2 separate regions of the Homo sapiens genome follow, and region 2 is linked to region 1. The links are contacts of gene promoters, found by promoter capture Hi-C in blood cells and fetal thymus (Javierre and others, 2016). All regions are on one chromosome and are shown on one strand. The core of a region is centred on a gene start or on the middle of the fragment in contact, and the rest is flanking DNA. Distances in the headings are between cores, read along the strand shown.

What was found. Contacts are between HindIII fragments. The CHiCAGO score rates a contact against its expected background, and 5 or more counts as called.
Region 2: a fragment that was not itself captured here is called in contact with the fragment with the promoter of NPR1 in region 1 in 1 of 17 cell types (M1 macrophages); the score reaches 5.5 in M1 macrophages.

Annotation. Positions count from the first base shown.
Region 1 is chr1:153,676,924-153,680,294 of GRCh38, reverse strand. NPR1 (natriuretic peptide receptor 1) reads right to left here and starts at 1,607. Exons shown (of 22, transcript NM_000906.4): 1 at 466-1,607. The coding sequence starts at 1,186. RefSeq lists a silencer at 807-866 and enhancers at 408-1,388, 1,389-2,370. The HindIII fragment of the contact is 5,247 bases long and covers 1-3,371 here.
Region 2 is chr1:153,878,041-153,881,411 of GRCh38, reverse strand. The region is part of intron 1 of GATAD2B (GATA zinc finger domain containing 2B); the gene reads left to right. Among named protein-coding and RNA genes, the nearest start is that of GATAD2B, 43 kb to the left of the region's middle. RefSeq lists a silencer at 85-379. The HindIII fragment of the contact is 8,275 bases long and covers 1-3,371 here.

The DNA of each region.
Region 1 (3,371 bases), core at 358-2,857:
AGGAGGAAGGGGGAGGCGGAAGGGAGGAAGGAACGGGTAGGGAGAGGGGGATAGTGGAGCTGAAGGTGGAGAAGGATGGGGCCAGGAGGGAGAGAGGAGGGAGAGGGAGGGGGAGAAGAGAGGGGATGAGGCGCAATGAGAGGAGAGGATGAAAGAAGGGAGAAGGCTATAGGGAAGAGAGAAAATGTGGGAGGGAAAAAGGGACCGGAACCGAGCTGTGCTAGGGTGGGAGGGAATGAGTGGGGGTCGGGGAGATGAGAGGATAGAGACGTGGTGGGGGTGGCGGAAGAAGAGAGGGAAATAGAAACTCAGCTGTAGAAAGGGCCAGGGAGCTGAAAGTAGAATGAAGAACGGCGAGGAGAAAGAAGAGTGCCCCCAGATGAGAGAGAAAGTCCCGATGCCTCCGGCAGGTCAGAGGGGAGGCCCTGCGGCTAAGCGGCGGGACGGGGTGTGCCAGCGTCTCACCTCGGCCTTTGCGCGGCATGGTCCGCAGCAGCCTGGTGTAGTGGCTGAGGTCGTCCTCGGCGAACTCCAGGTGGTCCACCGTAATATTGAGGCGGTCGCGGACCCGCATGAACAGCCCCTCCACGAGGAAGAAGCAGTGCTCTTCGTCACCCGGCCGGTAGGCGTAGAGCATGAGCGCTTGGCGCTCCCAGCCCAGCCGTCGGTGCAGCGCCGCCACGAAGTCCCCCAGCTTGGCGTAGCTGGGCCCCGCGCGGGTGGTCAGCGCATACTCGTCCTTGACACCGAAGCCCAGCGCCGGGGCGCCGGCGGTCAGCAGCGGGACCCGCCAGTGCGCGGTGAAGCGCCCCACTGGGGCGGCGGCGTACACGCAGCCGGGGCCCAGGAACACAGCGGGGTTGTGCTCCCACTTGAGGTCCACCGCGGCCAGGGGCGCTGCGGTGTCGGAGCAGACGCCCAGCGCGTTTTCGCTGCTGCCCAGCACCGTGCGGACCGTCCAGCCCGGCAGCAAGTCGGGGCGCGCCTTCACCTGGGCCAGGGCCAGCTCCACGGCGGGTCCCACGCGCGCCCACGACCAGGGGTACGAGGTATTGGCCAGCGGCAGTACCACGGCTACCGTCAGGTTGCCCGCGTGGCTGCCCCGGAGCAGCAGCAGCAGCGGCGGCAGCAGCAGGAGCAGGAGCAGGCGCAGGCGGGAGCCAGCGGGGCGCCGGGGCCCCGGCATGGCCTCAGCGGGCACCGCAGCAGGCGAGCGCTCCTACCATGGCCTCCTCGGTCCCCTTGGGCTCAGCGGCCGGTCCCAGGCATCAGGCGCGTCCCTATGGGAAGGAGCAGGAGCGGGACGGGGACGCTCACCCCGGGGCTCGAGGCCCCCTGTAGCTGCGACGGTCTGGGCCGAGAGCGCAAGGGGCGCGACCGAGGGGGGCGCGCAGGGCGCCGCGGAGCAGGTGGGTGCCAGGAGAACGTCGGGCTGGAGAGGACCCGAGTGTGAACAACTGGGAGTGTGCGTGCGTGTTAGAGAGAGAGAGAGAGAGAGAGAAAGGGTGCGAGTGAGCGCTTCGTGAAGAAGGATGAGAGAGGGCGCGCGAGGGAGGAAAGAGGAGTGTGTGTTTGTAGCGTGCGTGAGCGCCTGCCCCAGGGAGTGTGCCAGAAGGGGCGTCCGGCCGGCCCAAGTCTCCGGCTATCCGGAGGGAACCGTGGAGGACCCGAGCCAAGCTCCGAACCCTCCCTCCCAGCCGCTTCCCCTCCCAGACTCAGTGACAGAAGAGCCAATCCAGGATCTTTAACTCCTTCCTCCCCGCCGCCCAGCCCGCGCGCTTCCCCGTGGACCATCTTCCCCGGTCTCGGCCGCCCCACGCCTACCTCTTTGGAGGACAGGACCCTCTGAAGGTGCGCCCTCGCCGGGATGGAAAGGACGGCTGAACGGAGGGTGTGTGTGGAAGCAACCGGGGCCCACTTGCGCCCCACCTTTTCCCTCGCCTCCTACCTGGTCTCCTCGGGGGAAGAGGGAAAGGTGTGCTGGTTTGGGATCCTGGCAGGAAACTGAGTGAGTGCGTGGATGTGTGTGTTTGGGTGTGGGGTGGAAGGTGACGGGTTTCTGGAAAGTCCGTTAAAGTTGAAGGTGAGCCCAGAGTGCTTGTTACCCATTCCTTCTATGATCTCCCTCTCTTTCCCTCCCTGCCACCTTCCAGACTGTGCAGATTAGCTGTGAAAAAATGATCTGGTGTCAGAGAGGAATTAAATCTTTAGCGCCCAAATTGTAGGAAGATGGGGAGAGTGGGTGGGTGTCTGGGAGGGAGGAGGTTCACACCTCAGGGACGCCCCAAGAAAATGACTGTTTTGTGTTGAGGGTTGTTAAAATGAAGGCTGTGGGAGATGACCACTGGAGGCGTAAATTGGGGAGTGGGTTTTGGAGCACTTGACAGCTGGGCCCCCGGTGCAGACTGCTGTGGAATCAGTGTGCCCTCTAATGGTCATCGGGGGTTATTGACGGCATTGCAGCGCCAACCTCTCCAACGCTGCGCCTAAGCAGGACATAAGATCACCAAACTTCAGGTCAGCAAACATTTCCAGAGAACCTTCGGTGCATTAAGCACCCACTAGGTGCCGAGGGCATAAAGATGAATATATATAGTCCGTGCCTTTGAGGAGCTCCATTTGGGACAAATAACCGTAATGCAACATGCATTAAGCACTACAGGGGAGACATGGATAAATTGCTAAAGGACTCAGATGAGGGCTATTCATTCTGCTTGGATTGGGGCCAGAAAATCTCCAAAAAAGAAATAATTCAAGAGGATGGAAGGATGAGAAAGGTATTCTGTGTAGACAGAGCAGAATGTTGAAGTACATTTCCTATATATGGAATTTTAGGAGACTTGAATATTCTTATTATCTAGAGCAAATTGTGGTCGATAGGCCAACTTGAGATGGCAGGCATGCTTTGGCTTGCATTCTCTTTATGTATATTGTATTTAATTCCCCACACTTAAATATCATAAGATGGGGCCGGGCAAGGTGGCTCAAGCCTCTAATCCCAGCACTTTGGGAGGTCAGGGTGGGTGGATCATGAGGTCAGGAGTTCAAGATCAGCCTGGCCAAGATGGTGAAACCCCGTCTCTACTAAAAATACAAAAATTAGCCAGACATGGTGGCGGCCGCCTGTAATCCCAGCTACTTGGGAGGCTGAGGTAGAGAATTGCTTGAATCCGGGAGACAGAGGTTGCAACGAGCCGAGATTGCGCCACTGCACTCCAGCCTGGGCAACAGAGCAAGACTCCGTCTCAAAAAAAAAAAAAAAAAAAAGATGGTACATGAATATTTGGATTTCTGACTTTTTTTTTTTTTTCCTTCAAAGATGGAGGTCTCCCTATGTTGCCCAGGCTGGTCTTGAACTCCTAGGCTCAAGC
Region 2 (3,371 bases), core at 560-3,059, 200 kb before region 1:
AGGGTCTCTGGCTTCTAGTTGTCTTCAAGCTGAAGCAATAAGGAGAGTGTTTTATTAAGGTTTTCTCTTTCTCCTTCCTCCCCTTTTTAAAATTTCTTTTGTCTGTAGCAGTGATGGTTCTAGCCTCCCCCTTACCCTCTCTACCCCTCCCCTTTTCCATGTCAGCTCCAACCCTGCTCTGTGAATGGAGTCAACCAGCTGACTGAGTGTTGGCATCATGCCAGGGGCTGCAAAGCAATGAGAATGTGCGCGCGCTCGTGTGTGTAAGTGTATACAGAACACAAAGGGAAAGGCCTGCAGTCTAGGAAATCACAGGCCATTATATAAGGAAGTCTGCGTCATCTCTGCTTGCTTGGGCTGATGGACAAGGAGAGGGAGGGGGGAGGCTTAGAGCAAGAAAAATACCCTTTTGACACATCCACACATACACTTTTTTCCTTGCTGTCTTAGAAAGAAAAAGGTATTTGTGTTGTGGCAAAACGAGAGAGCTTCTGTGTGCAAGTGTTATTGACCATGTTCCTAGTAGAAGTAGTAACTGTCCTGGATCTCCTTTTTTATTTTTTTATTTTTTTGAGACAGGGTCTCTGTCACCCAAGCTGGAGTGCAGTGATGTGATCACGGCTCACTGCAACCTTGACCTCCTGGGTTCAAGCTATCCTCCCAACTCAGCCTCTTGAGTAGCTGGGACTGCAGGCGTGTACCACCACACCTGGCTAATTTTTGTATTTTTTATTGAAATTTGGTCTTCCTGTGTTGTCCAGGCTGGTGGGTCTCTTCTTTCTGTTCCCATTCAAAGGTGTATGTGCTTGAGAAAAGAATGATTAAAAGAGAAATGCCTCCTGGATTTTACAGCTGTAGTTTGTTAAGATACTTAGGGGTGAGGAGCAAGGAGGCAGGGGACAGGCCACATTGTGTGGCTTTTTTGTTTTTTGTTTTTGTTTTTGTTTTTGACAGTCTCACTTGGTAGCCCAGGCTGGAGTGCAGTGGTGTGATCTTTGCTCATTGCAACCCCTGCCTCCCAGGTTCAAGTGATTTTTGTGCCTCTGCCTCCCGAGAAGCTGAGATTACAGGTGCCCACCACCACACCCGGCTAATTTTTGTAATTTTTTTTTAGTAGAGACAGGGTTTCACCATGTTGGTCAGGCTGGTCTCGATCTCCTGACCTCAAGTCATCCACCTGCCTCGGCCCCCACGGTGCTGGAATTACAGGCGTGAGCCACTGCGCTTGGCCGACTGTTTCTAATCATTCAGAATTGCCAAGGGTACAGGGGTGGGTGGGGGAGAGGGGTTGTTCTTAAGGAGAAGCAAAAAGCCAGATAATAGAGCAAGTAATATCTATTAACTACTCATTCGAGACTCCCCCTTCTTTTTTATTTCTTCTTTTCTGTTTAGTATGATATTATCAAAATGCGGTATTCTTTCCCTGCCATCTGCCAGAGTTAGAATTGTACAAAAGGACAGTCAAACAGCACATGGAAGGAAGGAAAAATTAGAGATTGTTCTAAGTGTCCATGCATTGCAAGTGTTACAATTTTGGGGTTCAGTTGTAGTGATTGTGTCTTTCATTGGCAATTAGGGGATCAGCATTCATTTAGAAATTATAATTCTGCTCAGTTTAGTATGATGTCTTTTTTTTTTTTTTTTTTTTTGTAGACAGTGTCTCGCTCTGTTGCCAGGCTGGAGTGCAGTGGCGCATTGTTGGCTCGCTGCAACCTCCGACTCCTGGGTTCAAGCGATTCTCCTGCCTCAGCCTCCTGAGTAGTTGGGACTACAGGCCTGCGCCACCATGCCCAGCTAATTTTTGTATTTTTAGTAGAGACGGGGTTTTTACCATGTTGGCCAGGATGGTCTCGATCTCTTGACCTCATAATCCGCCCGTCTTGACTTCCCATAGTTCTGGGATTACAGGCGTGAGCCACTGCACCCGGCCTGATGTCTTTTCTTAAATTCTCTTTATGTGCCTCCTAGGTGTGATATTTATGAAGCAGCTTTTGTGTTAGGTGAAAATGAGAAAGTATATTAAAGAATAAAGTATGGGGCCGAGAGCGGTGGCTCATGCCTGTAATCCCAGCACTTTGGGAGGCCGAGGTGGGTGGATCACATGAGGTCAGGAGTTTGAGATCAGCCTGGCCAACAAGGTGAAACCCTATCTCTACTAAAAATAAAAAAATTGGCCAGGTGTGGTGGCTCATGCCTGTAATCCCAGCACTTTGGGAGGCTGAGGCGGGCGGATCACGAGGTCAGGAGATAAGAGACGATCCTGGCTAAGACAGTGAAACCCTGTCTTTACTGAAAATACAAAAAATTAGCCGGGCGTGGTGGCTTGCGCCTGTAGTCCCAGCTACTCGGGAGGCTGAGGCAGGAGAATCGCTTGAACCCGGGAGGCGGAGGTTGCAGTGAGCCAAGATCGTACCACTGCACTTTCAGCCTGGGCGACAGAGCAAGACTGTCTCAAGAAAAAAAAAAATTAGCCAGGCATGGTGGTGGGCACCTGTAATCCCAACTACTCGGGAGCCTGAGGCAGAAGAATTTCTTGAACCTGGGAGGTGGAGGTTGCAGTGAGCCTAGATTGCACCACTGCACTCCAGCCTGGGCGACACAGCAATACTCTGTCTCAAAAAAAAAAAAAAAAAAAAAGGAATAAAGTATGGGTCACACTGTTACAGTTGGTTTTATGTGAGTTTATTTTTGCTTCTGACCATTCAGAATAACAGCACTGATGGGGAGAGTTGGGAATGAGAGGGAACTTTCAAACTCGTTAATCCTGTAGTAAGAGTTTTTATCAGGTTGCAGTCTAGAGGAAATTCCTTAATTTGATTGGGAACTTGTATATTTTTGTTAAAGCCTGTAAATTTCTCTTCTTGCCACATCTTTACAAGCAATAGTCTTTGAACGTCTGTATTTTTTGGTGTTAATATCTGTGCTTTTTTTCCTTTTGTTAGGAAGTGAATATGAGGTTATTACTTTCTTTAAGGATTGTAGGATGAGCTGGTCACAGTGGCTCACAGCCGTAATCCCAGCACCTTGGGAGACCATCGCAGAATTGCTTGAGCTCAGGAGTTTGAGACCAGCCTGGGCAACATAGGGAGATTCCATCTTTACAAAAAATTAGTCGTGGCATGTGCCTGTGGTCCTAGCTACTCGGGAGGCTGGGGTGGGAGGCTGCAGTGAGCCATGATTGCACCACTGCACTCTAGCCTGGAAAACAAAGTGAGACCCTGTCTCAAAAAAAAAAGAAAAAAAAAAAAAGATTGCAGGATGGGACCTACCACAATGGTTGTTCTGCTTATTCCCCAGGCTGCCTGCAATTATTTCCCCACCCCAAGGAGCTGGAGCCTACTTTTCTAAGTCCCTTTATAAGTAAACTAAGG